Linked DNA regions of Homo sapiens: all the other regions are linked to region 1. Evidence: promoter capture Hi-C in human tissues and cell types (Jung and others, 2019). All regions are on one chromosome and are shown on one strand. The core of a region is centred on a gene start or on the middle of the fragment in contact, and the rest is flanking DNA. Distances in the headings are between cores, read along the strand shown. Region 1 holds the start of ZIC5 (Zic family zinc finger 5). Region 2 overlaps PCCA (propionyl-CoA carboxylase subunit alpha). Region 3 overlaps CLYBL (citramalyl-CoA lyase). Region 4 overlaps CLYBL (citramalyl-CoA lyase). Region 5 overlaps PCCA (propionyl-CoA carboxylase subunit alpha).

What was found. Contacts are between HindIII fragments. The study calls those that stand out against the background at their distance.
Region 2: a contact is called between a fragment that was not itself captured here and the fragment with the promoter of ZIC5 in region 1, in 1 of the 25 tissues and cell types used here (IMR-90 fibroblasts).
Region 3: a contact is called between a fragment that was not itself captured here and the fragment with the promoter of ZIC5 in region 1, in 1 of the 25 tissues and cell types used here (H1 embryonic stem cells).
Region 4: a fragment that was not itself captured here is called in contact with the fragment with the promoter of ZIC5 in region 1 in 1 of the 25 tissues and cell types used here (H1 embryonic stem cells).
Region 5: a contact is called between a fragment that was not itself captured here and the fragment with the promoter of ZIC5 in region 1, in 1 of the 25 tissues and cell types used here (mesendoderm cells).

Annotation. Positions count from the first base shown.
Region 1 is chr13:99,969,820-99,973,459 of GRCh38, reverse strand. It overlaps ZIC5 (Zic family zinc finger 5), which reads left to right and starts at 1,693. Exons shown (of 2, transcript NM_033132.5): 1 at 1,693-3,333. The coding sequence starts at 1,857. The HindIII fragment of the contact is 23,774 bases long and covers 1-3,640 here.
Region 2 is chr13:100,201,293-100,204,932 of GRCh38, reverse strand. All of the region lies in intron 6 of PCCA (propionyl-CoA carboxylase subunit alpha), which reads right to left. Among named protein-coding and RNA genes, the nearest start is that of PCCA, 110 kb to the right of the region's middle. The HindIII fragment of the contact is 3,586 bases long and covers 176-3,640 here.
Region 3 is chr13:99,752,762-99,756,401 of GRCh38, reverse strand. The region is part of intron 1 of CLYBL (citramalyl-CoA lyase); the gene reads right to left. All of the region lies in intron 4 of CLYBL-AS3 (CLYBL antisense RNA 3), which reads left to right. Among named protein-coding and RNA genes, the nearest start is that of CLYBL-AS1, 26 kb to the right of the region's middle. RefSeq lists an enhancer at 3,488-3,640. The HindIII fragment of the contact is 4,623 bases long and covers 1-3,640 here.
Region 4 is chr13:99,792,312-99,795,951 of GRCh38, reverse strand. The region is part of intron 2 of CLYBL (citramalyl-CoA lyase); the gene reads right to left. All of the region lies in intron 1 of CLYBL-AS3 (CLYBL antisense RNA 3), which reads left to right. Among named protein-coding and RNA genes, the nearest start is that of CLYBL-AS1, 65 kb to the right of the region's middle. The HindIII fragment of the contact is 4,897 bases long and covers 1-3,640 here.
Region 5 is chr13:100,114,310-100,117,949 of GRCh38, reverse strand. The region is part of intron 4 of PCCA (propionyl-CoA carboxylase subunit alpha); the gene reads right to left. Among named protein-coding and RNA genes, the nearest start is that of PCCA, 27 kb to the right of the region's middle. The HindIII fragment of the contact is 8,898 bases long and covers 1-3,640 here.

The DNA.
Region 1 (3,640 bases), core at 444-2,943:
AGCATTGTCTTTGTTTGCTTGTCAGTTTTATAAAAGAAATGACATTCCTAAGTCTCATACCGAAGCCCCCTGTTAAACATCGTTCACACCAATGTGAATGGCACTATCGAATCAACTCTTTTCAGAATATTTCTGATTACTTCCCACGGCCATCTCCCCAATAACGGCTTTGTGCAGTCTACTTTTACTTGGACTGCAAATGAATTAAGTTGGAAACATATTTTATTGTATCCCCAAAGAAAAAGATCACATTCTAATCATTATCACTTTTTTTTTTTTTACAAGTAATGTTACGGATGACAGCAAAATACAAATTTTAAAATCCTGGCTTTAATATTTGAGCATTTTGTAACATCACAAATTTCAAAAATGCTTTCTTTTAAAATCTGAAAAGGACACTTTTGGGGCAGTAAAATCCTTAATTTGGGGGGAGGGTCCCACATTTCTCCGCCCACCAAAAAGTGATGCAGGGAATTTCTATTTTTAAAAAATCGATTTGATACCAAACCTCTGGAAAGGGATGGGATTCGCTTTTTTAAAAGCCAGTTTTTATGGTTTTCAAATAAGACATCTTAGAGGTAGACTGGTTTATGAGAAAACGATAAAAAGGTGAAAGATTATTCTATCAGTAAATAAAAAGCAAAGATATTTCTTGATTTCAAAATAATATTTTATTGGATCAGTTCTAATTGTGGATCAGTCAAAGAAACTGAGGCATACATGTGGACTGTGGACTGGGATCTGGACCGGAAGGAGAAATTCTACTTAAAGGACGGTGCTTATTTAGCGGCTTCTCTCTGCAGAGATGCCGTTTGGCCTGCCCCGCCACTGTATCTCCGAAAGGCAAAAGTTAGAATCGCTGCCCGATCTCCTCTCCCCCGCCCCTACTGTAGATCTAATTGGAAGTGGCAGATCTAGAACCGATGAGTAGTGAGATTACACTTCCATCCAACTCCTTTGAACCATGTTGAAAAGGACTCTCCATGAGATAAAAAGTCGAGGTAAAACGGTTCCTTTGGGGGAAAGACTTATTTTGACTTCACCTGGTGTTTCGCGGAGCCAAATCACTCAAGTTGTCTTGCAACCAATAGACTTTATCTTCTTCACTCCGTCTACTGTCTATGCGCCCTAGGTGAGCGCTAGGCAGGTTGGGTGTCCAAACAAGAAGTTTCTAGCATCACCACTACAGGTAGGACGGGCTATTCACCCTTCTCTCCCAAACAGCAGCCCAGGGCTCTTCCACCCCACAAGAGAGGTGGAGGTAGAGGCAGAAAGTACTTGGGTGCCAGAAGGCACACAGAGAAGTGAGGCCAAGGTTTTTGAAACTGGGACTGCCCCTCGGGGGTCCTCAGCCCCTCACCACCCCGCGCCCTCTGCCCGCGTGCCGGCGCGCGCTCCGCGAGGTGCGTCAAGGAAGAGCGGGGCGCTGCGCGCGCAGGCCAGGCTCAAACTTTCTGCAAGTGCAACTTGGGCATCCCCGGGGAGGCGGGGACGTGTGGCTCCAGCGGAGGAGGGGGCGCGAAGCGAAAGCGCAGGCGGCCGCAAGCACGGGGGCGAATCCCCGCTGGGTCGAGGGCCTGAACGGGAGCCAATCGAGCAGCCGAGGCTACTGCCAATCACGCGGCTCCCTCCAATCCCACCCGTGCCATTTCCAAAATCTCGGTCCCACTGTGCAGCTCAAATGTGGTGTTCACTCTGCCAATCGCTGGAGGATAGAGTGGGAACAGGAATAAGCAGAGTTAAGAGGCCAGGACAAAAGAAGTTAAAGAGCGCCCAATACATACATGTTTTTGAAGGCGGGCAGAGGGAATAAAGTCCCCCCAGTGAGGGTCTATGGGCCTGATTGTGTAGTTCTGATGGAGCCCCCTTTGAGCAAGAGGAACCCGCCAGCGCTGAGATTAGCGGATTTGGCAACGGCTCAGGTCCAGCCGCTTCAGAATATGACAGGCTTCCCGGCGCTGGCCGGCCCGCCCGCCCACTCCCAACTCCGGGCCGCCGTCGCGCACCTCCGCCTGCGGGACCTGGGCGCTGACCCCGGCGTGGCCACCACTCCGCTCGGACCCGAGCACATGGCCCAGGCGAGCACGCTGGGCCTCAGCCCTCCCTCCCAGGCGTTCCCGGCACACCCGGAGGCTCCGGCAGCCGCCGCCCGTGCTGCAGCCTTGGTCGCGCACCCCGGCGCGGGCAGCTACCCCTGCGGCGGGGGCAGCAGTGGCGCGCAGCCCTCCGCGCCCCCGCCCCCAGCCCCTCCTCTTCCTCCCACCCCTTCACCCCCTCCCCCTCCCCCGCCTCCTCCTCCTCCTGCCCTCTCGGGCTACACCACCACCAACAGTGGCGGCGGCGGCAGCAGCGGCAAAGGCCACAGCAGGGACTTCGTCCTCCGGAGGGACCTTTCCGCCACGGCCCCCGCGGCGGCCATGCACGGGGCCCCGCTCGGAGGGGAGCAGCGGTCCGGCACCGGCTCCCCCCAGCACCCGGCCCCGCCTCCCCACTCGGCCGGCATGTTCATCTCCGCCAGCGGCACCTACGCGGGCCCGGACGGCAGCGGCGGCCCGGCGCTCTTCCCCGCGCTGCACGACACGCCGGGGGCCCCAGGCGGCCACCCGCACCCGCTCAACGGCCAGATGCGCCTGGGGCTGGCGGCGGCAGCGGCAGCCGCGGCGGCTGAGCTGTACGGCCGCGCCGAACCGCCCTTCGCGCCGCGCTCTGGGGACGCGCACTACGGGGCGGTTGCGGCCGCAGCGGCGGCCGCCCTGCACGGCTACGGAGCCGTGAACTTAAACCTGAACCTGGCGGCTGCGGCGGCCGCAGCAGCGGCCGGGCCCGGGCCCCACCTGCAGCACCACGCGCCGCCCCCGGCGCCGCCGCCGCCGCCGGCGCCCGCGCAGCACCCGCACCAGCACCACCCCCACCTCCCAGGGGCGGCTGGGGCCTTCCTGCGCTACATGCGGCAGCCAATCAAGCAGGAGCTCATCTGCAAGTGGATCGACCCCGACGAGCTGGCCGGGCTGCCGCCGCCGCCGCCGCCGCCGCCGCCGCCGCCGCCACCGCCCCCGGCCGGCGGCGCCAAGCCCTGCTCCAAAACTTTCGGCACCATGCACGAGCTGGTGAATCACGTCACGGTGGAGCACGTGGGAGGCCCCGAGCAGAGCAGCCACGTCTGCTTCTGGGAGGACTGTCCGCGCGAGGGCAAGCCCTTCAAGGCCAAATACAAGCTCATCAACCACATCCGCGTGCACACCGGCGAGAAGCCCTTTCCCTGCCCTTTCCCCGGCTGCGGCAAGGTCTTCGCGCGCTCCGAGAACCTCAAGATCCACAAGCGTACTCATACAGGTGGGTGTCTGTCCCCGGCCGCGCCGCCGCCGCCGCCACCAGCTCCTGCGCCGCCGCCGCTTCCGCCGCTGCTTCTCCTCCTCCTCCTGCTCGCCTTAATTTTTTTCTCCTTCTGCTGCTTCTCTTCGCATACGTATAACCCGGACATGTGACTTCTTTTTTTTTCTCTCCCCCCCTTTTTTTTTTCTATGAATAAGTAATTCGATAGCACACACAGGCCCCGCGTTGGGTTCCCACACGGCGGAGTCTCCAGCGCGCCCGCAGCCCCTCGGCCGGGACCCGCAACGCGCGCCAGCCGCCGCCGCCG
Region 2 (3,640 bases), core at 719-3,218, 230 kb before region 1:
AGTCCCAGGTACTTGGAAGGCTGAGCCAGGAGTATCTCTTGAGCCCAGATACTGTTCAAAGCTGTTGTGCGCTATGATGGCACCTATGACTAGCCACTACACTTCAGCATGGGCAACACAGCAAGACAAAAGAAGAGAAAGAAATTATGAAAAGCTGAAATCACTGCTCCAAAATTCTACTCATTTCCTAAATTCTGTGACTCTATGGTTCTGGACAAATTTTAATAGAAGAATGGGGGAAAGGGTTGGGTTTGAGCAGTATGTTAAGGAAATGAGATTTAATTTACCATAGGCTTTATGTCAGGAATGAAGGACAGAAAGAATCATTGTAAAAATTAAAATGTATGATACATATTTCATTCTTAGAAATACCACAAGTTAGTAAATTGCTATATTATGAATTCAGATTTTAAAGCGTATAGATTTTAGGCTTACCAAGAGTTGCTACTTGGATAACTACAAAACCAGGGTCAGAAGAAAAAGACAGCCATGGGGCTGGGCACAGTGGGTCACGCCTGTAATCTCAGCACTTTGGGAGGCCGAGGCAGGTGAGCTGCACGAGCTCAGGAGTTTGAAACCAGGCTGAGCAACATGGCAAAAACTTTTCTCTACAAAAAATATAAAAATTAGCCAGGCATGGTGGTGTATACCTGTGGTCCCATGTGGTCCCAGCTACTCAGGAAGCTGAGGTAGGAGGATTGCTTGAGCCCAGCGGGTAGAGGCTGCAGTGAGCCGAGACTGCACCGCTGCACTCCAGCCTGGATGACAGAGCAAGACCCTGTCTCGAAAAAAAAAAAAAAGCCACGGAAAAACAGCTGAACTGTCCAAAAGATCCAGATTGTGGTTTTTAATACTATTCCATGATAAAAGAAAAGAGTGTTTCTGGTAGAAAAGGCCAGTTCCAGGATTGGTTCAGGAAGTTAGCACATGAGATAAACTGAGTCAGAAAGAAAGCTTTCAAAAACTAATGTAGCAGATAGAAAGGAGCACCCACTGAATATAGTGATGTCAATAGGAACATCAAAAAGAATACTGGGGAGATTACAGGGTTAATTCATTCTTTTCAAGACCTCAGAATAAACCACTTCCTGCTATCTCTACTCGTGTTTGAACTTCTTGGACATGAGTCACTGATTTTAAAATACATGGCTCTTTAAAAAGAAATGTAGAGAAAAACCAATTTTACACATTAAACTAAGTGAAATAAAATATCAAGGTAAAATCCAACATAATTTTTTTTGTTTTTTGTCTTGATACGAAGTCTCACTCCGGAGTGCAGCGGTGCAATCCTGGCTCATTGCAATCTCCGCCTCTTGGGTTCAAGCAATTCTCCTGCCTCAGCCTCCAAGTAGCTGGGACTACAGGCACCCCCCACCATGCCGGGCTAATATGGTTTTATATTTTTAGTAGAGACAGGGTTTCACCATGTTGGCCGAGCTGGTCTCGAAATCCTGACCTCAAGTGATCCACCCGCCTCGGCCTCCCAAAGTTCTGGGATTAAAGGCGTGAGCCACCATGCCTGGCCCCAATACAATGTTTTTATAAGGCAAAGAAAAAGGGACCAGAGTAACATCCATGTAGGGCAGGAAAGCACAGGAGAAAAACATACCAATACAATAGATCAAAACTATCATCTCATTTCTTTTTTTTTTTTTTTTTGAGACGGAGTCTCACTCTGTCACCCAGGCTGGAGTGCAGTGGCGCGACCTCAGCTCACTGCAACCTCCACCTCCCAGGTTCAAGCAATTCTCCTGCCTCAGCCTCCCAAGTAGCTGGGACTACAGACGCGCACCACCACGCCCGGCTAATTTTTTTTGTATTTTTAGTAGAGACGGAGTTTCATTATGTTGGCCAAGCTGGTATCGAACTCCTGATCTCGTGATCCGCCTACCTTGGCCTCCCAAAGTGCTGGGATTACAAGCGTGAGCCACCGCACCTGGCCTATCATCTAATATTTCAAAACAAGTTAAAAGACATTTTTAAGTGACACATAACATAAAATAGTATAAATCAGATTTAGAAAAGCTCAGAAATGAGATGACAGAACTCAGGATACAACTAGAAATGAAAAAGAAAATCATTCCAGAAATGAAAACAGCTACAAAGAATGTAAGAGTGAATAAGGAAAACAGACAATGCCTTATGAGAAAGACAAATTGAAAATAAAAATATTTAATTTAAATATAAAAAATGAATAAATAATACAGAAGATGAGAAATATTGAAAATAAAAAAGAACATCCAACATATGAATAATAGGAATCCTTGAAGAGAACCAAAGCAAAAAAAAGAGCAAATATTAAAAATACAACTCAAGAAAATTTACTTGAACTAAAAATACATATTAAAAGACCACACTACAGGAGAAATTCATTCCAGGATGACCAACATACCAAGAAAAATTCTAGCAATATTACTTAAGTAAAAGAAAATGAAAAAAAAAAAAACAGGAATAGGTAACTTATACAAAAGAGAAATTTAAATAATCATCAGACTTTGACAGCAACATTTTATACCAAAAGAAAATGGAATAATAAACTCTTTTGAGTAAGAAATTCAAGGAAAGAAAGTATGAGCTAATAATTTTATGTTCTTTTCGTGGAACAGGGTCTTGCTCTGTTACCCAGCCTGGAGTGCAGGGGTGCCATTATAGTTCACTGCAGCCTCAAACTCCTGGGCTCAAGTGATCCTCCCATCTTGACCTCCCAAGTAGCTAGGCCTACAGATGTGTACTGCTGTGCCCAGTTTTTTTTTTTTTTTTTTTTGGGTAGAGATGGAGTCTTGCTATGTTGCCTATGATGGTCTCAAACTCCTGGCCTCAAGTGATCCTCCTGCCTCAGTCTCCCAAAGTGTTGGGATTGCAGGCATGAGCCACCAGGCTGAGTCAAGCTAAGAATTTTAAATCCATAGAAGTCAGTGCAACTATGAAAGGCAGAGAAAATTTAACAACATGCAAGAACTCATAAACTCTGAGAAGTCCAATACAACAGAGGTTTGCAAACTAGTGTGTAGGCCAAATCTGGCCCATTCACTCCCTGCTTTTGGTTTTTTTTTTTTTTTTTTTTTTTTTTTTTTTGAGACGCAGTTTCAGTCTTGTTGCCCAGGCTGGAGTGCAATGGTGCAATCTCAGCTCACTGCAACCTCCAGCTCCCGGGTTCAAGCGATTCTCCTGCCTCAGCCTCCCAAGTAGCTGGGATTACAGGCATGCACCACCACGCCCAGCTAATTTTGTATTTTTAGTAGGGACGGGGTTTCACCATGTTGGTCAGGCTGGTCTCAAACTCCTACTTCAGATGATCCGCCCACCTCAGCCTCTCAAAATGCAGGGATTACAGGTGACAGCCACCACACCTAGCCTCACTGCCTGTTTTTGTACAGTCCATGATCTAAGAAAAGATTTTACTAATTATTGGGGGTGGGGGTTAGGCAAAAATTTTTTTAAATACTGTATCATTACACATAAAAATTATATGAAACTGAAACGTAGCCACCATGCTCATAGTTTACACTGTCTGTGATTGCTTTCTCACTATAAGAATAAGAATGAGTACTAGCAGAGATCATAGGGCCTACAAAGCCAAAAATATTTCCCCTCTGGCTCCTTACAGAAAAGGTTTGCCCACTCCTGTACTAGAGAATGA
Region 3 (3,640 bases), core at 851-3,350, 220 kb after region 1:
GACTCCAAAGTACAGCCAAAGATGAGAATCTCTGCATTAAGGGTTGTAAGTACAACTAAGGTGTCTTACCGATCCCAAAAAGGACTTGGGCTTGCTGAACATTAATAGTAACCAGAATTTAATCCTATTACATTTAGGCAGGGGAGATAGGTATCAATTACACAACCTTCCACTGATCAAATGATAATTTTGAGATGAGCAGAAGTTTCCCTTGTTTGAAAATCATGTTGCTTCACATCCCCACCCACTGAATCCATGGCCATCATTGTAGAAGTGCAGGGGTGAGAATGGGGTGAACACCAGGAAGTCCCTGCTGAACTAGGAGCTTCATGCTAGATTCTGGTATCAAGTCCACAGTGAGATAATAAACGTGCCTTTGTTAGTGGAGAAGAAGTCTTATAATTTCCAGCAGCTTAAGGGTCTGAACATAGAATTCTTAGGAGGCAGAGTGAGAAAGGAATGGGGGATTTGAAGTGAAGTCCTTGTCACGGGCAAGACAAAGCCCTTCAGATGCTGACAGCGGTTCGGTGGGGAGAGCCCAAGTAATGAGACAGGGCTGAAGGTTCTGCCTGGTCTACTCCCCCATCCCAGGAACATGCAGGACAGTGACAGTGACTAGAGAGGCAATGGGAATGTCCAAACTGAGGGGGTGTGCCAACTTCCCACTCACCCTCTGGGAGACTTCATGGGAGCTCTGCATCAACGTGGGGCACAGAGAAGAGCAGACACAGCAATATAGATTGCTCAGGCAGAGAAGGGCAACAGTGGCATGCTATCCATTCCCTGAGGATGGAAGAATCCAGAAGTTTCGACTGACCCTTTGGCAGTGTGCCTGCAAGGGAGCTGTCAGAGTCCAGGAGTGAGGGCGCCCATATCAGAGGTAACAGGCTGGCTGGTGTTGGGTGACAGACAGCAACAGGGAGAGAAGAGGCAGGAGCTGCCCTGTCTGCAGGGCCATGATCACACCCACTGGGCACACCTCATGCATTTCCTGTACCCCAAGAACAGATCACAGGTCCACTGACCATTAGTACGGCATCAGAGACCAGTCACCAAGGGCCAAGACACATGAGCAACTTCACTGGAGCCCACAGGGAAGGCTGCCATGACATGGTTTGTACACTTCCTCCTGGGCCCCCTGTGGCCCAGAAAAGAGGAGGACAGAAATCATAACAATGAGTATCTACTTAAAAGAGATCATCTAGGGCCGGGCGCGGTGGCTCACGCCTGTAATCCCAGCACTCTGGGAGGCCGAGGCGGGCGGATCACGAGGTCAGGAGAGCGAGACCATCCTGGCTAACATGGTGAAACCCTGTCTCTACTAAAAATACAAACAATTAGCCGGGCGTGGTGGCAGGTGCCTGTAGTCCCAGCTACCCGGGGGTTTGAAGCAGGAGAATGGCGTCAACCTGGGAGGCGGAGCTTGCAGTGAGGCGAGATTGCGCCACTGCACTTCAGCCTGGGCAACAGAGTGAGACTCCGTCTCAAAAAAAAAAAAAGAGATCATCTAGGCTGGGTGGGGTGGCTCATGCCTGTAATTCCAGCACTTTGGAAGGCTGAGGCGAGTGGATCACGAGGTCAGGAGTTCGAGACCAGTCTGGCCAACACGGTAAAACCCCGTCTCTACTAATAATACAAAAAAAAAAAAAAAAAGCTGGGCATGGTGGCACACGCCTGTAGTCCCAGCTACTTGGGAGGCTGAGGCAGGAGAATCACTTGAACCCAGGAGGTGGAGGTTGCAGTGAGCTGAGAACATGCCACTGCACTCCAGCCTGGGCTACAGAACGCGACTTTGTCTCCAAAAAAAAAAACAACAACAACAAAAAAAGATCATCTAGAAGAGCTGGGCATAGTGGTGTGTGCCTGCAGTCCCAGCTATTTCGGAGACTGAGGTGAGAGGATTGCTTGACCCCAGGAGTTCAAGACCAGTCTAGGAAACAGAGTGAGACTCCATCTCTCCTCTTTTTTTTTTTTTTTTTTTTTTTGAGACAGGGTCTCACGCTGTTGCCCAGGCTAGAGTGCAGTGATGCAATCACAGTTCACAGCAACCTCCACCTCCCTGACTCAGGTGACCCTCCCACTTCAGCCTCCCAAGTAGTGATTACCTGATACTACTGGCACGTGCTACCATGCCCGGCTAAATTTTGTACTTTTTGTAGAAATGGGGTTTCTCCATGTTGACCAGGCTGGTCTCGAACTCCTGGGCTCAAACGATCCGCCCACTTTGGCCTCTCAAAGTGCTGAGATTATAGGCATGAGCCACCACACCCGGCCAAGTCCTAATACTTTTTTTTTTTTTTTTTTTTTTTTTTTTGAGACCGAGTTTCGCTCTTGTCGCCCAGGCTGGAGTGCAATGGCATGATCTTGGCTCACTGCAACCTCTGCCTCCCCGGTTCAAGCGATTCTTCTGCCTCAGCCTCCTGAGTAGCTGGGATTACAGGCATTGCCATCATGCCCAGCTAAGTTTTGTATTTTTGTAGAGATGGGGTTTCACCATGTTGGCCAGGCTGGTCTCGAACTCCTGACCTCAGGTGATCCGCCCGTCTCGGCCTCCCAAAGTGCTGGGATTACAGGCATGAGCCACCGCGCCCGGCCAATGTCATAATACTTTTGAGTCATATAAGTAGCAGTCCAGACTTGACTAAGTGCAGAAAATAACTTGGTTCAGGGCTTTAGAAAGTCATAACATCACTCTTTAAATTCAAAATGAAGTTAAAAAGAGATTGCCACTAAAATAATAACTCTAACAGCACAATAAATTCTAAGTCATTTTAATAAATGTAGGTAAATGTATCAATAAATTTTAAAGACGTACTAATCAAACCCAGTATCAATCAGGTATTCCATGCATTCCAGCTCCCTGCCAGGGCCTTTAGGATGGGACTTACATCCTACTCTACATTACAAACTGGAGAGCTAACATACATGGGCGTTAACTGTGCCTTGCACGCACCTCTGCACTGTATCTTTCCCACCCTGGCCCAAGACACCACCACCTTACTCCCGACTGGTTCCTGGGGCCTCTGTCCCTCTCCAGTCCCTTCTCCACACCACAGCCAGTCTGGACTTTAAAAAACACAAATCAAATCATGATGCTCCTCTGCTTGAGCCCCTTCCATGGCTTCCCAGTGTTCTCACATTAAAAACCAAATGTCTCACCCAGATTGGCAGGCTCCTGGCTGCCTGGCCCATCCGTCTCCTCTGCTTACCACCCTCAGTTACAGGTATCTGCTGCCAGTTCCCTGACACACCACATCTTCCTGCTCACCTCGGGACCATCCCATAAGTGGTTCCCTCTCTGGAAGGCTCTTCTGGATCTCAGCATGTCTGCCACCCTCTCATCCCTCAAGGCTCAGCCTACATGCCCTGTCCTCAGCAGGACCTTCCCCATGCCCCCTCCTGGGATGCTGTCCTCCAGAACCCCGCCCTTCCCTTCACAGGCCTTCCCCTTTTGAAATGAATTATTGGCTTTGTTTACTTGTTCACTGTCTGTCTTCCACTGGGTTCAGAGAATTTTTCCTTTTTGGCTGTCCCAGACAGGAACACCCTTCCTGTTTGGTGGGGGTGGAGGCAGAGACCCCACGGTCCTTCTCCACATCCTTTGAAAGCTAGGGAGAGGCCACAAGCATAAGCTTGGCCC
Region 4 (3,640 bases), core at 578-3,077, 180 kb after region 1:
CCCTGCCCCATGCCCTGCAGACCTGCACCAGTTGGGCCAGGTTATCAGCCTTCCCCTGCAAAATGGCAGGGGGCTTAGATGAAATGCTCAGCAGAATGCCTATTGGTGTTCAACCTTAGTTTCATTCTTCTACCCCTGGAGGCTCCAAGAATTCACCCTCCAATTCTTGAATAGTCTTTGGGAAACCAAAGACAAAGCTGGCCTTTTATCTCCGGCCAGCACCTGGCTCATCTTTCTCTCTAGGCTTTTGAGCTCTTTTGACAGATGTTTAGGGAGAGTTTTTGTTTTTTGTGTTTTTGAGACAGGTTCTCACTCTGTCACCCAGGCTGGAGTTTGGTGGCATGATCATGGCCCACTGCAGTCTCAACATCCTGGGCTCAAGCAATCTTCCCATCTCAGACTCCTGAGTAACTGGGACCACAAGCACATGCCACCATGCCTGGGTAATTTTTTTTTCTTTTGTAGAGGTGGGATCTCACTATGTTGCCCAGGCTGATCTTGAACTCCTGGCCTCAAGTGATCCTCCCTCCTCAGCCTCCCAAAGTGCTAGGATTACAGGTGTGAGCCACTATCCCTGGCCCTAGAAAAGTCTTTTTGGTTTAATTACCTGGAGTTAATCAATAACTTGCCCAAGAATATGCTGCTTCTTAGACTAGACTTGGCTGAGAATTCAGGGCCCAACTGTTAACTTTTGGAGGTTAATTTCTGACCAATAAATGGCTAACACAACTGCATTACATGGAGGAAATTGCAAAAACATATTTGAAATAGCACATTTTTAGTAGAAGGGCAGGCTGTGTCTTGAGTTAATTCCTGACTTGACATTTGCTCCTCACGAGCCACACTTTCCTCCTCTGTTATCAGCAAAACACCATGCGGCCTGCATAGCCGGTACAGAATAAGATTTAAACCACCACTACCACCATCCTGAGAAGCTTTGATATATTTAAAAATACATGGCAAAAGTATGATATTATTGCTGAACTCTGTCTCTAAATCAGAATACTAAATTATGACTTAAAATACACCCACTGATTTATTATTAAAAACATAGTATTTAGCCTGGGTGTGGTGGCTTACACCTATAATCCCAGCACTTTGGGAGGCCAAGACAGATGGATCACCTGAGGTCAGGAGTTCTAGATCAGCCTGGCCAACATGGTGAAATCCTGCCTCTACCAAAAATACAAAAATTAGCCAGGTGTGGTGGCACATGCCTGTAATCCCAACTACTCGGGAGGCTGAGGCATGAGAATTGGTTGAACTCAGACGGTGGAGGTTGTGGTGAGCCAAGACAGCACCACTGCACTCTAGCCTGGGTGACAGCATATGACTCCATCTCAAAATAATAATAATAATAATAATAATAAATGAAAATATAGTATTTAATACTGTTATAAATTGTGGCAAATGAAATTTTTAAAAACTGAAAAGAATACTATGTTTTGATATGAAGCATGTTCTCTGCATGATTTCACACTATCTTCTCTTTATTTTGGCAGTGGTTATATACACTTGAATCTTTTTTCTTGAGATGGAGTCTTGCTCTTGTCAGCCACGCTGGAGTGCAGTGGTGCAATCTTGGCTCACTGCAACCTCCACCTCCTGGGTTCAAGTGATCCTCCTGCCTCAGCCTCCCAGAAGCTGGGATTACAGGTGTGTGCCACCATGCCCACCTAATTTTTGTATTTTTAGTGCAGAGAGGGTTTCATCATGTTGGCCAGGCTGATCTCGAACTCCTGACCTCAGGTGATCTGCCTGCCTCGGCCTCCCAAAGTGCTGGGATTACAGGCATGAGCCACGGCGCCTGGCCACATATTTGATTCGTTAGTCACAGATTTAGCAAACCAAAACCTCTTAAATTTATTTTGTAAAAATCACCTGTGGTCCTGGTCCAACGGAGAGATTTTAATTAGTAGCTATATTTGGAATAAGTAACTTTAATGATTTTCACCATAGTCTCGAAGCTATTTCTTACTTCATATTAGAGGAAATGGATGCAGTTTCCACATTTATAAAGCTTTGAATCATTTAAGCTGCATTTTCTTTCTTTTTTTTTTTTTTAATCTTAATTTTGAGCTGGAGCTCAAAGATCTGTTTTATTGCCTAGGCCCGGGCTTTCTGTAGCCAGATATATCACATTATAGATCATACTCAGTCTTACTTAATTGGATTCCTAGGAATTGCAGGAAAAGAAATAACTGGCAATTTAAAGCCTGCATCTCTTTGAAAAGAGACTTTGCTGATCTCATTAAATGGAAATTGCTGACTATTATGACCCTAATAGAGATATTTGAATCCTTGCATTAAGAGGATGCCTGGTTTGAAGAATAAAACAATGAGAAAAAATTTTTTGTTGTTTTTTATTTATTTTTTAACAATTACTGTTCAAAAGGGGAAAGGTTATTTAAGGGTATGAAGAGATTAATAAAAGACTGAAAACACTTTACTACTTTTATAAAAACCTGGATAGGTTTTTATATCAGAACCTTTAAGGATCAAAAAGACCTTGCAGAGTTCCTAAGCACAGTTCAGCTTTCCACACTGTTCCAGAAAGACTCAGATATCCTAATTCCTATTGAAGACATCTCCTGAGCTCTTAAGTCTTTTAATAAAAGCAAGGCACCTGGGAGAGGAGCCTTCCCATCCTAATTTCACACCCCTATTGAAGAGGAGTTGGCTCCCCATGCCCCTGTATACATTTAATCATTCCCTGCACATTAGTTCACTGGCTCGCTGTGGGAAGTATACACCTAGCCACTCCACTAATTTATTTCAACAAAAGTGACAGCACTGAGGAATTTAAAAGTTAGCCAAATGGATTCGTGTATGTGTACGGTGTGTCTATGTAAGCATAAATGGGGCTTTAAGGTCTACGTACTTTGTGTGTGTGTGTGTGTGTGTGTGTGTGTGTGTGTTATGTATGCACATGTGCACAAGAAGAAGTATAAATGAGAGCACAAAGTAGAGAGAATATATATGCTCAGGTGGAAAGGACCCTCCATCTGTATGGCAATTAAAGTAATAATAATAAAGAGTACTAATAAATTAATAATAAAGACTAATAATAAGCCAATAACTTTGAATGATATTGGGCGTTTCTTTCTGAGCAACTCACACTGACAAATGGAGTGCCTCCCCGGTTCTGCAGTCTAACAGGTGACTACAGGAGGCCTTGCAGGAATTTCTGTTTGGGGAAGAGGCACTTAGGAAGGGGCTCACTGTGGGGGTCATAGCTGCACTCCCTTCTCTACAGCACAGCCTCCAGTTGTTCTCGCCTCCACAACCACTCACCTTCTTTTAGGCCTTGGCAGGAGAAGCATTCAAAGAGCATGGCCCAGTTGAGAAACTCCAGGGGTGGGGCGTAGGGTGGGGTGTGGGGTGGAGGGATTGCCAAAGCACTGACTGCCACTTAGAAGGCATTTGCCTTCCTCTGTGTTTCACCGAGGAAGGCAGCTGCAACAAGGCGGCCCTCCTGGTTGTCCTGAGTACTCTGCCACGTGGAGCAGCTGGCTGAGAAGAGAGCGGCTGCTCTGATCCCCACTCAACCAGGTGCTTCCCCTGCCCCCTCTACTGAGGGTGGCCAGCTCTCCCCAGACAATCCCAGCCCACCTGCAGCTGCCCTCCCATTCCTGTTTCC
Region 5 (3,640 bases), core at 370-2,869, 140 kb before region 1:
AGAGACAGGGTTTCACCGTGTTAGCCAGGATGGTCTCGATCTCCTGCCCTCATGATCTGCCCGCCTCAGCCTCCCAAAGTGCTGGGATTACAGGCGTGAGCCACTACGCCCGGCCTCTTTTTTTTTCTTTTTCCTGTCCAGGGGATTCTTTTTAATGCTGCTTTTTTTACATATATATATATACTTTAAGTTCTAGGGTACATGTGCACAACGTGCAGGTTTGTTACATAGGTATACATGTCTCATGTTGTTTTGCTGCACCCATCAACTCGTCATTTACATTAGGTATTTCCCCTAATGCTATCCCTCCCCCATCCCCCAACCCCACAACAGGACACAGTGTGTGATGTTCCCTACCCTGTGTCCAAGTGTCTTCATTGTTCAATTCCCACCTATGAGTGAGAACGTGCAGTGTTTTGTTTTCTGTCCCTGTGATAGTTTGCTGAGAATGATGGTTTCCAGCTTCATCCATGTCCTGTAACTTATTTTCAAATTGTTTAGCCAAAAAAAAAAAAAATGCACACACACAATGTACATATGGATACAAATATAAAGCAAACAAGCCAAAATGTTAACAATTGCTGAATCTAGGTGAAGGGTATACAGATACCGTTATACTGGTATATAACAGTAAACTGATACCAATATACTGGTACTACTTTTCTAATTTTTTTCATTATGTTTGAAGAAATGCTTCAGAAAAAAATATAAATGAATGACCAATAACACAAAAAAGTACTCAACATCAGTATTCATCAGGAAAATCTAAAATTAAAAACACAATGACATACTGCTTCACAACCACTTAAAAATAAAACACAAAATCAAATGGACTGAAAACACCAAGTGTTGGCAAGGACACAAAAGCACCCTGACCTAGACATTTCTGGAGGGAGTAAAATATGATACAACCATGAAGGAGAACTATTTAGCAGCTTCTTATAAATTTAAACATGCATGTATTTATTCTAGGCATCAGCAAAATACTGTCTACCCACTGGCCAAATCTGATCCAAGGGCTGTTTTTGCACAGCTCTCAAGCTAACAATAGTTTTCACATTTTTAAAGTGTTGTTAAAACAAAACAAAACAAAACAAAAAGAAGCATATGTAACAGCGACCACAGGGGCCTGCAAAATCTAAAATATATTTGCTATCCAGACAAAAATGTATTTACTTTCAAACAAAAAAAGGTTGCCAACTCCTTATCTACCCTAAGACCCAGCTACTCCACTCCTAGATATTTACCCAAAAAAAATCAAAATTATGTTCACAAAAAGACATGCAAAAGTTATACTTATAAAAATCTTGTTCATGGTATCTAAAAATTGGGGAAGGGGGGTAATTGGCCAGCTCATCCTAAAATTCACATGGAAGAGCGAAGGACCAAGAATACTGAAGACAATTTTGAAGAACATGTTGGAGGGAAGGGACCAACAGAGGTAAACTGCATAATCATCTCTAAAAGCCAACATTTTTCTATCAAACATTAATTGTTTGCAAGTTAGCTGGCTTTCCTTCCTTGTGTGACTTATTAGTTGATATGTGCAGTATCCATTCATCTTTTTCCTTGCATAATTACCTTAAAAATTAGTTGTTTATAATAGACAATGAATAGCTTTTGCAATCAATTGTTGCAGTATTTTCCTACTGGAATAGTATTTACATTTCCACATGTGAAATTAACATACAAAGCCTATAAAGTTTTTTACTCCAAGTTACATTTAAAATGCTCACCTCTTGAAAACAAACATGCAAAAATTAATACATCTGAATAGCATGGCTTTTTCATATTACTGATATTATAAAGCTGATTAGCTATGATAGTAACCTCTGTGATCACGTGCTGAGGATGCAAAAGATGCTGTTACAGGAATTCACCTTTTCAGCCTCCTTGAGACTGAAACAGAAACCACATAGCAGATTTGACCCTACTGTTGAGGTTTAAATGAAACTTTTGACATTCCCACCATCATTATCCTGCTTTTACTTATAGTATCTTTCTAGAAATTGACCTAAAGTAGGTCATAGTAAGAGAAAGTTTTGACTGAGTGTGCAATTGCTTCCATTGTGGGGTCTGGTAAATTTTATTATAAATTATGTATCATAATCTCTGGTATATTCCCTACTGCTTTCAGCCAGAAGTGGTGAAAAGTCTCTAAAATGTAAAACTACCACATCTGCTTCAGGGAAGGTACAAATGAGAAAAACCTAACAACAATTCTTTTGAAACCACTTTTGCAAAGTCTGAAAAGTCTACCTGTAGATCAGAATTCAATCATGCGCCATATGACAGCTTGGTCGGTAATGTACTGCATCTACATTTCAGCTCCAATAATGGAGCTGAAAAATTCCTATTTGCCTAGTGATGTCTTTTTTTATTTTTGTGGGTATACAGGAGGTGTATATGTTTATGGAGTACATGAAATATTTTGATACAAGCATACAATGTATAATAATCACATCAGGATAAATGGGGTAGCCATCATCTAAATCATTCATTTATTTGTGTTACAAGCATCCCAATTCTATTCCCTAAATTATTCTAAAATGTACCACAAATTACTGCAGACTGTAGTCACCCTGTTGTGCTATCAAATACAAGATCTTATTTATTCCATCTAACTATATTCTTGTACTCATTAATCATCCCCACCCCTCCCGCTCCATACACCCTGCCAAGCCTCTGGTAACCATCCTTCTACTCTCTCTCTATGAGTCCAATTGTTTTCATTTTTAGCTCCCACAAATGAGTGAGTACATGCAAAACTTGTCTTTCTGTGCCTGGCTTATTTCACTTAACATGTCCTCCACCAGTTCCATCCATGCTATTGCAAATGACAAGATCTCATTCTTTTCTATGGCTGAATGGTACCGTACATATGTACATTTTCTTTATCCATTCATCTGTTGATGGATACTTAAGTTGCCTCCAAATCTTGGCTATTGTGAAAAATGCTACAATAAACATGGGAGTGCAGATATCTCCTCCATATACTGATTTCCCTGGTGCTAGGTGTACACCTAGAAGCAGATGTACATCTAGCAGCCGGATCATATGATAGTTTTAGTTTTTTGAGAAACCTCCATACTGTTCTTTATAGTGGTTGTATTAATTTACATTCCCACCAACAGCATATGAGGGTTCTTTCTCTACATCCTCGCCAGTACTCGTTATGTCTTTTGGATAAAAGCCGTTTTAACCGGGGTAAGATTTTATCTCATTGTACTTTTGATTTGCATTTCCGTAATGATCAGTAATGTCGAGCACCTTTACATATACCTGTTTGTGATTTGTATGTCTTCTTTTGAGAAATGACTATTCAGATCTTTTGCCCCTTTTTATTTTCCTTTGGACATAGTCTCGCCTGGTCGCCCACGCTACAGCGCAGTGGCACGATCTTGGCTCACAGCAACCTCCACCTCCCAGGTTCAAGCTTCTTGCCCCAGTCTCCAAGTAGCTGGGACTACAGATGTGTGCCACCACACGCGGCTAATTTTTGTATTTTTAGTAGAGACAGGGTTTCACCATCTTAGCCAGGCTGGTTAAACATCCATTTATTTATTCTAGGTCTCAAACTCATGACCTCAAGTGATCTGCCCGCTTGGCCTCCCAAAGTGCTGGGATTACAGGTGTGAAC